Regions from separate parts of the Homo sapiens genome. Here region 1 is linked to region 2. Evidence: promoter capture Hi-C in human tissues and cell types (Jung and others, 2019). All regions are on one chromosome and are shown on one strand. The core of a region is centred on a gene start or on the middle of the fragment in contact, and the rest is flanking DNA. Distances in the headings are between cores, read along the strand shown. Region 1 holds the start of ADAM8 (ADAM metallopeptidase domain 8). Region 2 holds the start of PWWP2B (PWWP domain containing 2B).

Region 1 (3,450 bases), core at 488-2,987, 880 kb before region 2:
TGCCGGACTGGTGAGCAGAGGAGCCTGCTAGCTTTCCTGCCTGGCCCCGAGGCCCAGAAACCCCTGATCTTGTGTCCTGGGGTCTGGGAAGCCCTGGGCCTTGAGAAGTGGGGTTTGCAGGTGGTGATAGGAGGAGGGGAGGGAAGCCTCCAGGGCTGTGGGGTTCAGGCTCCCAGACCCCCCGGCACCTGCTGAAGAGGAGAGCTGTGTTCTGTGGGATTGGGTGGAACTTCCTCAGCGCGGGAGGAGCCTGTTCTGGCCCAAGCTGGTCCTGTCTTTTTAGGAATAAATCCCTGGTAGCTCAGCGTCGGCAGGGGCCTTGCTGTGCCTCTGATGTGGCCAGCGTGCCGCCTTTGCACTTTGCTGTTGAGTAACTTGCACCATGAGGTCAAGGAAGGGAAGTGTGATTGCCAGCTGGCCATTGTTCTATAATAACAGGGTCACCTGCATGAGCTCAGGCACAGGCCAGTATCCCCAGCCCTACCTGGGAGCCTCTCGGCAGCCTGGGGGACCTCGTCCTGTGCCACACAGGCAAGCGGACACACCCCCAGGCAGCAGAAGTCACCTGCGGCCCAGTGCCAGCCCTTGCTTTCTTGCTTTTCATGCCATTCACATTAGGGTAAGAATGGCTTTGAGACAAAATGTGACAGCATCACTCACGCCAGCTTAGATCCTCCGGGTTCCCTGTCCTCCCAGGATAACGTCCGAGGCCCCGGCCTCTTCTTGCCACTGCCCCTTGACCTCTGTCCTCTGCCCCTAGGCCCGTGCAGTTCCCTGACTCGCCCTGCCCTGGTGCCCTCTCTCCAGGCAGGACTCCCTCCAGCCCCTTGCTGGCCCTGCCCTGCCTCTCCCCAGGGAGGCCCTGAGGCCCCCCCCCCCCATGTGATCTGTCAGCAGCGCCCTGTGTGGTCATCTGAGCTGCCTTTCCTGCCACCACCACTGTTCCCACTCCAGGAGGGCGGCCTGGCTGTGAAAGCCCCAGGGAGGGGTCCTGGGTGGACCGTCTGGGGAGCTGTGGTGTCAGCCCAAACCTGCACCCTCGAGGCTGAGCCCACCACGGGGAATGTGGTCACCAAGGGCAAGCACGCTTGGCCGCAGGCCTGGAGACGCCGGAGCCAGGCCACGGTGGGCTGCTGCAGGCTTTGGTCCACGTCGGCCAGCGTCAGCTGCTGTCTGGGGATCTTAGGCTAGGGACGGCCCCTGCACCTGCCATCACCTGGGCTGGGACCCCCACCTAGGGCTCCCCCTCCCCACTTGGACGCCTGCGGGCCCATGCCTATCCCACTCCGGTGAGGCCTCAGCCTGGTGGAGGGGGCGCAGGCTTGGGGGGGAGGGTGGCAGAGCTTCCCACAGGGCTGAACCTATGCCCACAAAGCCATGACTTGCCCCTGCCTGAGGCTTTCTGTTCCCCAGGAAATCAGAGACCCCCTCTCCTGAAACCGCCAGGCGGCCCTCACAAGTCCCTTCCCCTCCAGGACCTGCCTGGCGCCACCTCCTTCCAGCCGCCGGGTCCTTCGAGAGGCCCCCTCTCGGGGCTCTGGCCGGACTTGGGACAGGCTGTGCCTGAGTTTCCTCACCTGTGCAAGGGAGGATGCTGGATTGTGGGGAGAGGGGAAACGGACCCCGCCCCCAGGTGCCGCGCGCCCCGCCCCTCCCACCGGCCGAGGGGCCCATTGGCTGCGGGGCGCCGGGGCGGGGCGCGCGGAAAAGAGCCTCGGGCCAGGAGCGCAGGAACCAGACCGTGTCCCGCGGGGCTGTCACCTCCGCCTCTGCTCCCCGACCCGGCCATGCGCGGCCTCGGGCTCTGGCTGCTGGGCGCGATGATGCTGCCTGGTGAGTGGTTCCAGGGAACCGTCCCGGGCGCAGCGCGGGGCAGGGTGGCTCTCCCCGCAGGACGCGACGCGGACCCCGAGCCCCTGGCCTGCTCGCACCCCGCACCCTGGCCCGGCTTCGGGCTGGTCCCTGGGAGCGGGCCATCAGGTGCACAGTGGTCTCTGGGTGGAGAGCCCCGGGCCGGGGAGGCCGGGGAGGTCGGAGGGAACCTTCAAAGGTGAACTGTGAGAGGGAAGTCCCGCCTCTGAGCTTGTTAGTGGGGTCGGGGCCGGGCCAAGCAGGACGCTTCACCTGCTGCGCGAGGCGCCCTGGGTTCCTGGGATTCACCTGTGGGGCTACCCACCCCCACTATTTAGCCGAGGAGGGAAGGGAGGGCAGACAAGCTGAGGCCTGGAGTGCAGGGGTGTGGGCTGAGGGGACCCGTCTCCTGCCTGGGGGAGGACATGGGGCTGCTGACCCTGGATCCCACCCCTGCTCCTGGAGTGACTTGGGCTGGGGTGTGCTGAGGAGCTTCAGGCTGGAGGCCGGGTTGCTTCCCGCCAGTTTCCTGGGCAGATAGGGGCTGGCTGCTCCCCTGCTGCCTCTCCAGGTTGGAGATGTGGTCATGGAGACACGTCCACTATTGTGTTTTAATGGGAGCAAAGGGTCCTGGGGTTGGTGGTCTCCGAAACCCTGCCCATTGCATGCTGGGACCCTGCCCTCTGCTCTCGGATACCAGGGAGTTTCCAGTTCTTGGGAGGTGAACAGCCTCCGGGAGGCACTTCCTGCTCCCCAGTTAGATGCGATCAGATGATCAGAAGAATGGAGGAGGAGAATGGAAACGGGCAGGTCGGCGGCCCGAGTCCTCCTCCCTGGGGGGAAGGTTCATCCTTGCCCTCGGGCCCCTCCAGAGATCTGAGACAGCCTGGAGACCTGTGGAGTCACTGGCACCCGCTGGCACCCACAGCGTCTCTGAGCACTGTGTGTGGGTGCTGCAGGACACAGGCCCACCGGCCATGCCTGGGGGCGCTCCTGGGGTCTTTTAGGCACAGAACCCTCACTTGAGTCTTTGTCCCAGAGCTATCTGGTGAGTTCCCCAGGGGAGGGTCAAGCCCAGCAAGAGACAGAATCTGAGGGCCCAGGAGGCCTCTGGGAAGGAAACCTGCCCCCCGGCCCCTCATGCCTGCTGACCCTCCCTCCTGCAGCGATTGCCCCCAGCCGGCCCTGGGCCCTCATGGAGCAGTATGAGGTCGTGTTGCCGTGGCGTCTGCCAGGCCCCCGAGTCCGCCGAGCTCTGCCCTCCCACTTGGTGAGTCTAAGCTGGCCTGGGGAGGGTCCCTGGCTGGCCCCTGAGCCTATTTTTGTGAAAGGAGCTTTAGCTTACAGAAAGTGGTGAGAGGCCAGTGGGTGTCTGGGGCTGCCCTGTACAGCTCTAGCCCCCTGGGGCCCATCTCCGTTCCTCCCTCCAGCACTGCCTGAGGGCTCCCAGCCTCCTCGTTCCTTCAGGAGCTCTATGGACCCCTGGAAGGGAGCAGGGGCAGGTTGTGCTGGCCCCGGGCCCCTCCCCAGTTTCACTTGGCGAGGCTGATAAGCCAAATTCCTCTTTGAGAAGTGACGCTGGCTCACCGCAGAGTTGAC
Region 2 (3,302 bases), core at 1-2,500:
ATGGTGGAGGGGATGGCAGCTCCCAGGTGGCGATTCTCACCCCCCGAGTGTCCCTCCATCCTGCCCGTGCACTCCCAGCGGTAGCCCACACGGAGCGGGCAGGAACCACACGGGAGCCATATGTTAAATCACGTGACTTGTGGATAAATGGCTTCTGGCACATCTAATGAAGAGATAACGTCTGCGAAATAATTGTGGAAGGAACACGGTCCTCTCTGCTAATTCATGTCACCAGGCAAAAATCTGGGCTCCACGGATGGAAAAAGTTGGGCCTTTACAAGAGGAGCCTTTCCCTGCTCCCAGTTTCAAAAGAAAGCCCTGCAGGAGCGCAGCGAGGCCACAGCCTGATTCATGCCTAATCATTGATCTGGCAGCGACAGCTCCCTGCCATGTGACGCGGTGTCCAGGAGGCTCATCTGCACCGCATGGGTCCCTGCAGCCCGTGCACAGGTGCCTCTCAGGAGGAACCGCCCCGCCCTGCCCTGCGCCCCCCACCCAGGAAGCCAGGGCTCCCGGGGGATGTGCCCACGGCTCCCACAGCTTGTACCTCTTCACGCCCCCATGACTCAGGGCTCCCTGGCCTGAAACTGTTCTTAAATCGCACAGCTGGGCGCAACTGCTCTCCCCGAATCCAAACCTCAGCCGCGGAGTCACTCCCAGCAGCCAGGGGCCCGTGGCCTTCGACAGGGCACCCCCACCTGTGAGGAACTGCCAGGGCAAGGCCACGGCGCATCTGACCCTCCCCTGCTTTAACGACAATTCTGCCAACAGTCGAATTCAACAGTGGCTCTGAACAAAGAAAAGTGCATTAATTATGGCAGATGTGTGGAGTTCCGGGACCCCGGCCCCGCGCCCCCCGCCCCGGCCCGCCCCGGCCCGGCGCCCGCCCCGAAAAGTCGCGACGACTTTGAGAACCACTTTTGCCCCCCCGAGTGGCGGCCGCGCTCGCGCGCCCCGAAACTCAGGCTCGGCAGAAACCGAAAGCGGGCGCCGGGGCCACGCCACCCCCAACCCGGAGGCGGGTCCCGGGTCTCCGGGCGGCGGAGGCGGGTGTCGCGTGGGGACCCCGGGGGTGTCCCGGCCCGCGCCCCCGCTCACTTTTTCGTGCAGTCCAGCAGGATCCCCGCGAAGCTCCGCTCGCCGCAGCTCACCGTGACCACCAGCGCGCCGTTGACGACCTGCTCCACCCGCACCGGCAGCCGGCAGCCGGCGCGCGGCTCCATGCTCCCGCCGCGTCCCAGGCCGCCCCCGCCCCGCCGCCGCCGCCGCCGCCGCCGCCGCCGCCGGGTCAGCCCCGCGCGTGACGCCGCCCCGCGGCCGCCTGACGTCACAAAGCTCCGCTGGGGCGGCCGCCACAGCCGAGCCGAGCCGGGCCGGGGGCGCGCGGCCGCGGGCTCCGCTCCCGGGGACCCCGCCCGCCGCCGCCGCGTCCCGGGAGAAGCCGCGCCCGCCCGCAGAGGTCGGCCGGACGCGCGGTGCGGACCCCCGGGCTGGAGAGGGGGCTGCGCCCGGGCTCGCGGCCCACGCTGGCCGGGAGTGTCCCCTGGCTCGGGAGGACCCGAGAGCCACGAGCCCGGGGGCGGCGGGGGGGACACCCGCCGCGGCCGGAGCCCCGGGACCCCATCCCCCCGCTCCCCTGCCTGGGGCCGGTCCCGGGCCCCCCTCCCCCTCCGGGCCCAGCCCTGCGCCCTCCCTCCCTCCCCGGTGGCCCGGATCCTCCCGCCTGGGGTCGGCCGCCCGCGTGTCCCGGCAGCGCCCCGCGCTGGGCTCTGGTGGCCCCGGGCACTGCGGCGAGGAAGTCCCGGGCGGCGCGCGCAGGAAGCCGGGGCAGGCGGAGGGGACGCGGGGCGCCCGGGGGCAGCGGCCTAGTGTCGCCCTCGCCGCGTGGGGGGCGGGACACTGGGTCGCCCCACTGGGCTCGGCGCCTCTCGGGGCGACAAGCGGGCGCGCGCCCGGCTCAGGGCCACCCTGCGCGCCTGGGGGTGGCCGGCACCGGGGCCCGGGGGGTTAACTCCCTCCGGAGGTCTCGGGCGTGTCTCTTCGGGTTGCCGGGCCCAGGGGCCAGGCGCGCCTCCGCCAGTTTACAAAGGAAACAGCCTCCTTCCCCCGCGGCAGGGGCTCCCCGACCCGCGGGCGAGGAGTGGGAGGTGACGGCGCCGGACCCCCTTCCCCCAGGCGCCCGGCTCCCGCGCCTTCAGGCGTCAAAGCCCCCGACTTCCCCGAGCACCAGCACGTCCGCACCCGGCTCAGAACGCAGGGGCCCGGCCTGCTGCGGTGACCTTGGCCCCGGGCCGGGCTTCTGAGCCGGACTTGCAGCGCCTGACGAGGCCTGGAGGCGGGGCGGGGGACCGCGTAGTTGTCCTGGCGACCCAGCGCCGCCGGGCAGGGCTCCTCCCAGCCTGGGAATTGAGGACCACCGCCCCTGGTGCCACTGGGGACCGTCGGGTCGCTGGCGCCTGTCGACCTCGCCCTCCGGCGGCCGCGCGGCAGTGGGAGCCTCAGAGAGGAGCCAGGGCGGAGTGAGGGAGCCCGCGGGGCCTGGGACACCTGACCGTCCGGCTAGAACAGGGGTAGGGACCGAGGCCGAATGAGCCAGAGTTCTGGCCGGGGACAGTCCCAGAGGAGGCCTGGAAGCCCAGTGAGTGTCTGTCCTCCTCTGTGTGGCCTGGGGCTCCCGCCAACACTAAGCCCTTCCTGGGGCCTCAGGCACCTCAAGGCGCCCCGTTCTCCAGGGTCAGCCAGCCCCTGCCCACTGGTTGCCAGGCTTGCAGTGGAGCCTGCCTGCTGTCCTGCCCACAGGCCTCTGCAGCTGCCCCCTCCAGGGGTGGGGCTGACTTTGGAGGAAAAATGCCAGGCAGCAGGGACCCCCTCGCCACCCTGCTCCAGGTTGGGCTGAGCGGCCATCCTGAGGCTGCCCACTTGCTTGGCTCTTCTTCCTGCCTGCTGGAGAGGCCTGCTGGGCACTGCCCTTTCTGAGCATTGGGGACTGCCAGGGTGAATCAGCATTCAGGCTGGTGGGGCCAGCATGGGGTGGGGCTAATGCACAGGGGGCTGTATGTGGGTGGAGGGATCCAGAAAGAGTGTCCAGGGGAGCACCAGCATTCACCAGGGCCCCACCAGGTGGGCAAAAGCAAGGGCTTCCGAGGTGGGGGTGGGGGTGGGCAGGATCCTCTGCAAGGTGTCTGCGTGCGCCTGGGGCTCCTGGTGACTTCCCACGCCAGCAGGAGGAACAGTTTGGGGTGTGCTGAGGGACCCACCTGTGGACTTGCTGGGCTTTGAGAGGAACCAAGGCTGGGTGGCGG

The links. The method cuts DNA at HindIII sites, captures the fragments that hold promoters and counts their contacts. A contact is called where the count stands out against the background at its distance.
Region 1: a contact is called between the fragment with the promoter of ADAM8 here and the fragment with the promoter of PWWP2B in region 2, in 1 of the 25 tissues and cell types used here (spleen).

The regions. Positions count from the first base shown.
Region 1 is chr10:133,275,155-133,278,604 of GRCh38, reverse strand. It overlaps ADAM8 (ADAM metallopeptidase domain 8), which reads left to right and starts at 1,737. Exons shown (of 23, transcript NM_001109.5): 1 at 1,737-1,833; 2 at 3,018-3,121. The coding sequence starts at 1,788. RefSeq lists enhancers at 283-332, 1,647-2,294, 3,298-3,450 and a silencer at 1,488-2,047. The HindIII fragment of the contact is 31,119 bases long and covers 1-3,450 here.
Region 2 is chr10:132,395,148-132,398,449 of GRCh38, reverse strand. It overlaps PWWP2B (PWWP domain containing 2B), which reads right to left and starts at 1,250. Exons shown (of 3, transcript NM_138499.4): 1 at 1,099-1,250. The coding sequence starts at 1,223. LOC124902526 (a long non-coding RNA gene) reads left to right here and starts at 1,894. Exons shown (of 2, transcript XR_007062342.1): 1 at 1,894-3,302. RefSeq lists enhancers at 1-192, 193-715, 2,286-2,808, 2,809-3,302 and silencers at 978-1,117, 1,128-1,237, 1,648-2,077, 2,098-2,477. The HindIII fragment of the contact is 21,746 bases long and covers 1-3,302 here.